2 separate regions of the Homo sapiens genome follow, and region 1 is linked to region 2. The links are contacts of gene promoters, found by promoter capture Hi-C in human tissues and cell types (Jung and others, 2019). All regions are on one chromosome and are shown on one strand. The core of a region is centred on a gene start or on the middle of the fragment in contact, and the rest is flanking DNA. Distances in the headings are between cores, read along the strand shown. Region 1 overlaps STK4 (serine/threonine kinase 4). Region 2 holds the start of KCNS1 (potassium voltage-gated channel modifier subfamily S member 1).

Region 1 (4,739 bases), core at 1,968-4,467, 130 kb after region 2:
ACTATACTTTACCCCAATTACCTCAGGTAATAACACAACTCTATGAATTGATATATTATTATCCCAACTTTACAGATGAGGATTGTGAGCCTCCAAAATAGTAAGCAATTTGCTTAAGCCCACTTGTCTATTATGACCAGTAAACAGTAGAGCAAGGATTTTAACCCAGGTCAGCCTCACATTGTAGTAGTAAGAGCAAACTGTATTAGAAATGAGAGAAATAAGTTACATAGTCAATTATGCCTATCAGTCTTGAACTTATTCTAAGTATAACTTATGAGCATTGTTAGATTAAAGGTCACAGCCTTGCTGCCTTAGGGAAAATAGCAAGGATGGCAAGCTAAAGCTGAAAATGGCAGGCAACAGATGTAGAGGGACTGTCATTTCCCCATACCTTTAATGATGCCAGTCAACTGGCAGTCTTCAGATTCATCTTGGACTTGTCTTTTCACAGCACAGCTGGTGTGTCATTTTTACTTCCCTTCTCTGCTTGATTTCTTGCTGGATTCCAAAGAGTATTTTTCCAACTTACAAAAAGACGATGACTCATGTTTTTTACAAGGAGGTAAATCATAAAAAAACCATTTCATGTAATCCAGGATTGGGTTTAACGTTGTAAATCTGTCTCCTAACATAAAAAATACTAAACCCAAAAAATAATCTAATGACATAAAGGAAATTATTTTAAAGAGCATATAGTCATCAGTCAGTAGTTGTTTTTACAAGTTAGTATGTCAGGTCTTCCCTTGATCCAGAAATACTCCCAAGGGATTAAAAATACAGACACACACACACACAAACACGAGTGTGCGCTCGCACACACATAGCCTGTCTCTGAAAGACACACAAGAAGCCGCTACCCTTGGTGATTCTGGGTGGCTAAGAGACAGAGAGAGGTAGGAGGCAGTTTTTTTTTTTTTTTATTGTATGCGTCTTAATATTTTTTTAAATTTTGAATCATATGATTGTATCGCCTATTCAAAAATTAACAAGAAAAACTTAAGAAATGGTGTCATTAACATTTTAATTTCCTGGTCATTACAGAAGAAGGAATAAATACACAGGATTGAATTAAAATGATATATAAAAGTATAAAAATTATGTAAACTTAATTGTATCATGAAAGTCAATGATGGTCACTGCACATTACTAATATCATTTCATCAGTATTTTATAAACGCATTAACAAATCTGTGTTTCAGGAAATCCACTGGCTCCCAACCCAGGATTGTGGATCTCCTAAGTAGCTGTGAAGGTGGTGATAGTGCTTAATTTATTTACTATATTTCACAAAGGTGCAAATATTAAAATACTAAATTACATTGATTTTCATTGAAACAGTTATTGCATACCAATCAGAAATTATGAACAGCAAATTAAAAAGTTTCTTATAGAATTTTAATCTAATTAGTGCTATCTGTTAAGTAGATAAAATCATACAGATCCTACAAAAGAGAAAACAATAGATATTCTTCGTGTTAAAAAGACCAGGAATCACTAAATCTGTCTATAATAGGGATTGGAGTAAAGCGAAGAAGGACATCACAAGCTGTAAATTTACCTTCCACCCCACCTAGAACAATGCTGAAAGGTTCATATCCTTCTGCTTCTTCTGGGGCAGGAAAAAGACTGGGACCCAATGACCTACCTATAGTTTCTTTACACTCACCCTTCTCCAAGTTTCTCTAAGACATCAAATACTTCTTCTGGTTGTTTGGTTAAACTATCTTCATCCAACTTTTTCAGCTGCCTGTGAATAAAGAAATATAAACACAAAATACATTTTATTTGCTAGGAACTAGAACATAAAATATATCTTTTTTTTATAATTAGCATCTCAGGAACTTCTCTATACAGACTTCACTAGTTAAGACTGTTTTAAGAAACAAGGTTTCTTGGGAGGCCGATACAGGCAGATCACGAGATCAGGAGATCGAGACCATCCTGGCTAACATGGTGAAACCCCGTCTCCACTAAAAATACAAAAAAATTAGCTGGGCGTGGTAACGCATGCCTGTAATCCCAGCTACTCAGGACGCTGAAGCATAAGAATGGCGTGAACCCAGGAGGCAGAGTTTGCAGTGAACCGAAATTGCGCCACTACGCTCAAGCTTGGGTGACAGAGAGAGACTGTCTCAAAAAAAAAAAAAAAAAAAAAAAAAGTCATGTGGCTGAAATGCTGTAGATTCAAGCATTCGATGTATCCTTCAAAATCTATTTAAATCTTGAGATTTCATGAATTAAAATGATGTAATTATCTCTTCAGAAAAGGTGTTTAATGTAAGGTAACTATGAATTGAAACATAACTATGAATTGGACTGCAGACTAAGGAAGACACGGGAAACCTTTGCTCTTCCATTAGCAAGTTTTTTGTAAGTTTGTCAAAACACATAAATTCTGTAGGTATCACAGAAACAGAAAGTGGAAAGTGTACATTTAGATATGATCAAAAGTGAAAAATCACTAGGCAGCTGTGAGTTTCAGATATTCTCACAAAGACCTTCCTATGAGTAGATACATACCTTTGACTAGTCCCAAAAATCAAAGGTACTTGGCTGCTCACAATTTCCAGATAATTCAGATTTCTGACTATGCTAGACAATCATAACAAACATGGGAGGTTATAAATTAACATTTTTTTAAAACTCTGAGATCTCTGAAAATTACTAATGAGCTTAAAGAAGGAACTTGCCAAGGAATATGTGTGTGTGTGTGTGTGTGTGTGTGTGTGTGTGTGTGTGTGTAGTCTACACAATGGCTTCCTGAAACTACAAAGAACAACAAAGAATAGAGAGCTGAGGAAACGGTGAAATATGGAAGTAGTCACACTGGAGACCTCTTTGTAGAAAAAAAAAGGTTTAGACTAGCTGGATAATATCAATTATTACAACAAAAGACTTAAATACACACACATACACACACACACACACACACACAAATGTGTACCTTCCTAAATAAAACAGATTAAAATTAGAAGACAAAAAATAAAACAAACCAACAAAAACCCTGACCACATCAAGTGTATCTACCAATAAACACTGATCTCAGAAGGACAATCTTATAGTTTATGAATATCAAGGACTATAAACTAGAGAAATGGAGAACTGCTCCAAGTCAAAACTGCCTTAACTTGATATCAACAGAACAAAATGATCACAGTGACCTTTGAAAATCAAAAGGTCCTAAAAATTAAATACCAATGACATCATAAAAACTCCTACCTTCAAAATGAAAAGGGATGAAGTGAAACTCCTCTTAAACTTCAGAACTGAAACTTCTATAAACTCAGAAGTCAGAACGAACATCTCATATGCCAGGGTTTTTTTGGTAAAGTCCTGAATTGTAATTGTATAAACATTGGACAATACCTCACTTCTCAAGTATAATCAAAGTTGTATAAACAGCTTATACAAAGGAAGATCAAGTATGTTTCTTTGAAGTGTTGACTCTCTGTGGTTTACAAAATGCAAAAGTCACTATTTCAACTACTTCAGGGACCACAGCATAACAAAGGAAATTGCCACTGCCTTGAGATAGACAGCTGCAAACCTCTGATAATACTTTGACAAACTTTTTTTTTCTTTTTTTTTAATTATTATTATACTTTAAGTTTTAGGGTACATGTGCACAATGTGCAGGTTAGTTACATATGTATACATGTGCCATGCTGGTGTGCTGCACCCATTAACTCGTCATTTAGCATATGACGGCTCGAATACATCTTTGAAACAATCTAAGTGCTTTTTTGTTTGTTTTTGATCCGGGGCTATTAAAAACAACTTGAACTTAAGGCGCTATTACATCTCTGGTGCCTGATAACCAAGAGGTGGTCAAAATATATTTGTGAAATGGATTCACAAATGTAATGATGGGAATCACGAATTTCATCAGCAATCTTTGAATTATCACAATAAAACAGAATTTCACCTAAGAAGTATTACTGAATTATCAACATTTCTATAAAAATATTTTGATAAGTGATTCATAATAATATTTTATACCATGACTCTTCACAGAAAAAACACTATTACCAAAACAGCCTGACTCTGATAATACAGTTCTCTTATCTGGGACTTCCCCAGGTTCCAGACGGTTTCAGCACTTGCTCATAAATGAACAAGCCTGATCAACAGAGCATCCATGGACCAAATACTGGTGGATGCTCCTCTCCTAAGTCAGATGGCCATGTGGATGGCCAGCATCCCAGGAATGCACTCTACGCCTTCCACTATAACATTAATCTAATGGCAACTCATTTTTTAAAATTATTAACTCCTATATGAGACACCAATCTGTCATCACTTAATCACACACACACACAAATGTCAAACTCACGAACACAAAGGGCATTTCCTGCACTGGGGTTATTGGAAACACATGCCATCTGAATTTCTGAAAAGACACCTGTATCTTTCCAAACACAAGTAATGGTGTCTATGAAGTAGTCACTTACAGGTCTGGCTAATTCTCAAAGCTTTCTCCCATTTCAGAACTCCCATAAAGTTCATTTTATGTGTAACTATTTCTTTTTCCACACAGAATTTGATATGGATTACAACAACTATACATGATAAATGGACAAAATCTTACATAATAAAACTGTGTCCCCAGCTTACCCCAATTCATATGCTGAAGTCCTAATACCCACCACCTAAGAATGTGACTGTATTTGGAGACAAGGCCTTTAAAGAGGTAATTAAGATAAAATGAGGTCATATGGGCATGCCCTAATCCAGTA
Region 2 (4,322 bases), core at 1,565-4,064:
CCTTCCCACCCATAAGGCCCACCTTCCCACTCTTGTGGCTCACAGATTCCACCAAAACTTCATTTACCTCTCACTGTGTAATCTGGGGATGAAACCAGATCCTGGTTTCATTCTCTTCTGCCTTTGGGAAATAGGTCTGTCTTTTCTCTCAATTTTGGAAACCGTCTCTGCAGCTCCAGGGAAAACTCCTGAGTCCTGAGGGGTAGCAAAGGCTGCAGACAAACTCTTAGGCCAGGAAACAGAAGACCTGCTTCTCGGCAAATCTGCCTCAGTTTCCCTGTTGGTCAAATGAGGGAATTGGGCAAGATGCTCACTAAGCAGCTTCCTGCTCTAACTTCTTCTTTCGAGGGAAAAACTAAAGTGGCACAGCCTAGGGCTGTGCTGTCTAATATGGCAGCCACGAGCCATGTGTGGCTACCGAGCACATAAAATGTGACTAGTCCAAACTGAGATATGCTATAGATAAATCTCAAAAAATCTCTCTCAAAAAATAAAAAATAAAATAAATTAGTACACTAGATTTATATATGGGAGGCAGAATTCAGATGACCCCTCCTCAATGATCCTCATCCCTGTATAATCTCCTCCTCTTTAAGTGTAGGTGGAACCCGTGAATGTATATTATATGGCAGAAGGGAGAGTGCCCTGGGTGGGCCTGGACTAATCAGGTGAGAGTTTTAAAGCCAGAGATTTTTCTCTGGCTGGTTACAGGAGAGGAATTCAGCACTCTGATGTCCCTGAAAGAAAGCAAGCATTCATGCTATGAACTGCCTATGGGGCAGCTTCTAGAATCTGAGATTGATCCCTCGGAGACAGCTAACAGGAAAAGAGAGACCTCAGTCCTATAACCACAAGGAAATGAATTCTGCCAACAATCTGTGAGCTTGGAAGAAAACTCTGAAGCTCACATGAGAACCTCAACCCTGGCCAACACCTTGGCTTCAACCTGGTGAGACCCTGAGGGTCCAGCCAGGCCATGCCCAGACTTCTGACCTACAGAAACCATGAGATCATAAATTTGTATTGTTTTAAGCTACTAAATTGTGGTAATTTGTTATGTAGCAATAAGAAAAATTAGTACTGGATTTTAGAGACTTAGTACAAAAAAAAGAAAATGTAAAATATCTCAATAATTTCTTTACTGATTCCAATGTTGAAATCATAATATTTTAGATTTAATAAAATATATCACTAAAAATACAGTTGATCCTGAAACAACACGAGTTTGAACTGCTAGTGTCCACTTACATGCAGATTTTTTTCCAATAAATACATTGGAAAATTTTTGGAGATTTGTGACAATTTGAAAAAACTTACAGATGAACCATGTAGACTAGAAATATCAAAAGCCTTAAGAATAAGTTAGATATGTCGTGAATGCCTAAGATATATGTAGATACTATTTATGTGTCAATCGACTGTTTATATTATTGGTAAGGTTTCTGGCGAACAGTAAGTTATTACTAGTTAAGTTTCAGGGGAGTCAAAAGTTATATTCTAATTTTCTAGGCATGGAGGAGTGGTTTCCCTAACCCCCACTGTTTAAGGGGTAACTGTAATTTCGCCTGTTTTTTACTTCTTTAAAATGTTGCAATCAGAAATGTAAAAGGACATATGTGGGCCGGACGCGGTGGCTCATGCCTGTAATCTCAGCATTTTGTGAGGCCAAGGCAGGTGGATCATTTGAGGCCAGGAGTTCAAGACCAGCCTGGCCAACATGGTGAAACCCCTTCTGTACTAAAAATACAAAAATTAGCTGGGCATGGTGGTGCATGCCTGTAATCCCAGCTACTCAGGAGGCTGAGGCAGGAGAATCGCTTGAACCCAGGAGGCGGAGGTTGCAGTGAGCCAAGATTGTGCCACTGCACTCCAGCCTGCAACAGAGTGAGTGAGACTCTATCTCAAAAAATCAAAAATAAAATAAAATAAAATTATATATGTGGCTCACATTATAGGTGTTGGACTGTGCTGGCCTAGAGGACTCAGAAGTCAGCCATGGGACCTCCGGCAAGTCACCACACCTCTCAAAGCAGTTCTTATCTGTGAGATAGGAATAATAGTAGCACTTACCCCACAGATAAATTTGCAGTTTGAGTGAGATTGAGGTCTGTGCTTGACCCAAGGTAAGTACTCAATAAACGTTGGTAATTATCATTATTATTAATAACAATATGTGCAAAGGCTCATATCCAGGCCCTAGTCTCCAGGAGCCTCTCCCCAACCAGGCACACAGCAGCCACACAACAGGTACATGTGTGGGGATTTCACAACCTCTACAAAGCTCTTTGGCACATGTTCTCTGCCCTCACAACCCACTTGGCAGGTGGGAATCAGGAACCCGTGGGCAGGTAAGGACACTGCGCCTCAGGGGTAAAATGATCGTTTCAAGCTTCACAACTCACCTAGGAAGAACCTGGGGCTCCAAGGGAGATGAGGCCACCTTCTACAGCTCCCTAACTCAGATGCCCACGGTCTGAGAAAATGACTGGAGCTCACCCCTAAAATGGGCGACATAAGATCCTGGCCCTGTCAAGTGTGTGTGCCAGGAATAACTGAGATCAATCACTTGCAGCAGCTGAAGTACCCTGGCACATACTAAACACTCAATTAAGTAAATCATGATTACTGTTGTTCCTTTGCCAGAGAAGCTTCTGCTGAAATCCCTCTCTACGGGGAATCCTCACGCCCTAAATGACCCCTCCTTCCCGGCCCGTAACTCCGGAGGATGCCCCTGCAGGTAGGCCCAGTCTCCAGACACCACCACCCCCCAGCCGAGTCAGGAATAGAAACCGCCGCCTCCGGCCGCCAGCGGCCTCACTCCCTCCTCCGGCAGCGATCGATGCGGCCTTCAGCCGCGGGGGACTAGGCAAGGAAGAAGGAAGGAGAGGGCAGCGGGGCCGCCTGCAGCAGGAGGCTCGGCGGGGCCGGCGGGGCAGAGGCGAGACCGAGTATAGCCAGCGGCTCCCAGCCTCGGTGGCTTTGGGACAGACACGCGAGGCGCCCGGGAGGTGCCACCACAGGTAAGGGGCCTCCTTTGGGGAGGGACGTGGCTCCGGGACGGTCCCGGGCAGCCAGAGTGGGAGGCGGGGCTGCCTGGGGCTCCTGGTGCTCTTACCCCCTCTAAGAGACCCCCCACCCCCCGCCAAGGAGGAAGCAGTGTGGGGTGGCCGCGCTTTGGAGACCCTGGCTGGTACAGTTTGCTCATCTGTAAAATGGGATTAGAAAACCTCCCTGGCAGGGTTGGTGTAGGGATTAAACCGAGTGAGGTGTGCATGGAGCCCAGAGGAGTGACTAGCAGATAGGAGGTGCTCAAAATAAGTGTGTGGAGAGAGAATGAAATAAAAAAACCTGGTCTCCAACCTTAGCTGTGCCATGGACTAGCTGGGTGATTTTGAACAAGTCACTTGGTCTTTCTTACTGATATTCAGGTTCTTGTCAGAAAATGTTTGTTGAATTAATTATCCTGTTTCATAGAGCAGGAAAGTGAGCTCCTGATGGATGAAGGGATTTGCCCAATATTATGCTTCTAATGGGTGATGGAACTGGATTAGAAATTTCATTTTTTGATGCCAAATGCAGGTGGAGATCCAAGTGGAGGTGGGAGCGGAGCTACATCACACGTTTATTGTGCATTGATTATGTGCCAGGGACCATGCTGCCGATAAACACCTTGCATCATTTAATTCTCTGAGCCTCTCCTGGAAAGTATGATGCTACCCGGTTCCACAGACAGGGAAACAAGCCCAGAGAGGGCGACGAATGCACTCAAGGACAGCAGCTAGTAAGTGGTAGACTCAGGTCTGACCACAGGGAAGTACACAGGATTAACATTTATTGAGCATCTACTGTTTTCCCAGGGCTTTGACATATACCACAATAATGATGCATCCAAAGCAACATTATCCCCATTCTAGAGGTAAAAGAGCTAAAGCCCAGAGTGGGAAGGAGACTGGCCTGAGGTCACACAAGTGATAGAGCTAAGGGTGGAACCCCAAATCCATTTAATGCCAAGCCCAGGTGCTTTACACACACTTAATCCCTAGTCTAGGCATTACTGAACCCACAGTGCAAATGAGATTGCCAGTGGTGAGGAGGTGTCACTAGCCCCCAATTCCAGCAGAGTCAGGAGTCAGTGGGTAGTGGAAGAACCTAAATCCTTCCTGAGTATCCACTAAGGCTGAGCACTTTCTATAATCTACCTTAATCCTCCAGTCATCCCTGGAGGTAGGTGCTATTATCTACGTTGTGCAGGAAATTGAGACCTGGAGGACAAATAGCTTCCTCAAGGCCCCAGGTGCGTCAGGGGTGGAGATAAACCCAGG

What was found. Contacts are between HindIII fragments. The study calls those that stand out against the background at their distance.
Region 1: a contact is called between a fragment that was not itself captured here and the fragment with the promoter of KCNS1 in region 2, in 2 of the 25 tissues and cell types used here (dorsolateral prefrontal cortex and spleen).

Annotation. Positions count from the first base shown.
Region 1 is chr20:44,969,089-44,973,827 of GRCh38, reverse strand. It overlaps STK4 (serine/threonine kinase 4), which reads right to left. Exons shown (of 11, transcript NM_006282.5): 2 at 1,670-1,750. Among named protein-coding and RNA genes, the nearest start is that of STK4, 4.9 kb to the right of the region's middle. The HindIII fragment of the contact is 4,792 bases long and covers 822-4,739 here.
Region 2 is chr20:45,099,619-45,103,940 of GRCh38, reverse strand. It overlaps KCNS1 (potassium voltage-gated channel modifier subfamily S member 1), which reads left to right and starts at 2,814. Exons shown (of 4, transcript NM_001322799.2): 1 at 2,814-3,020. The HindIII fragment of the contact is 6,202 bases long and covers 1,140-4,322 here.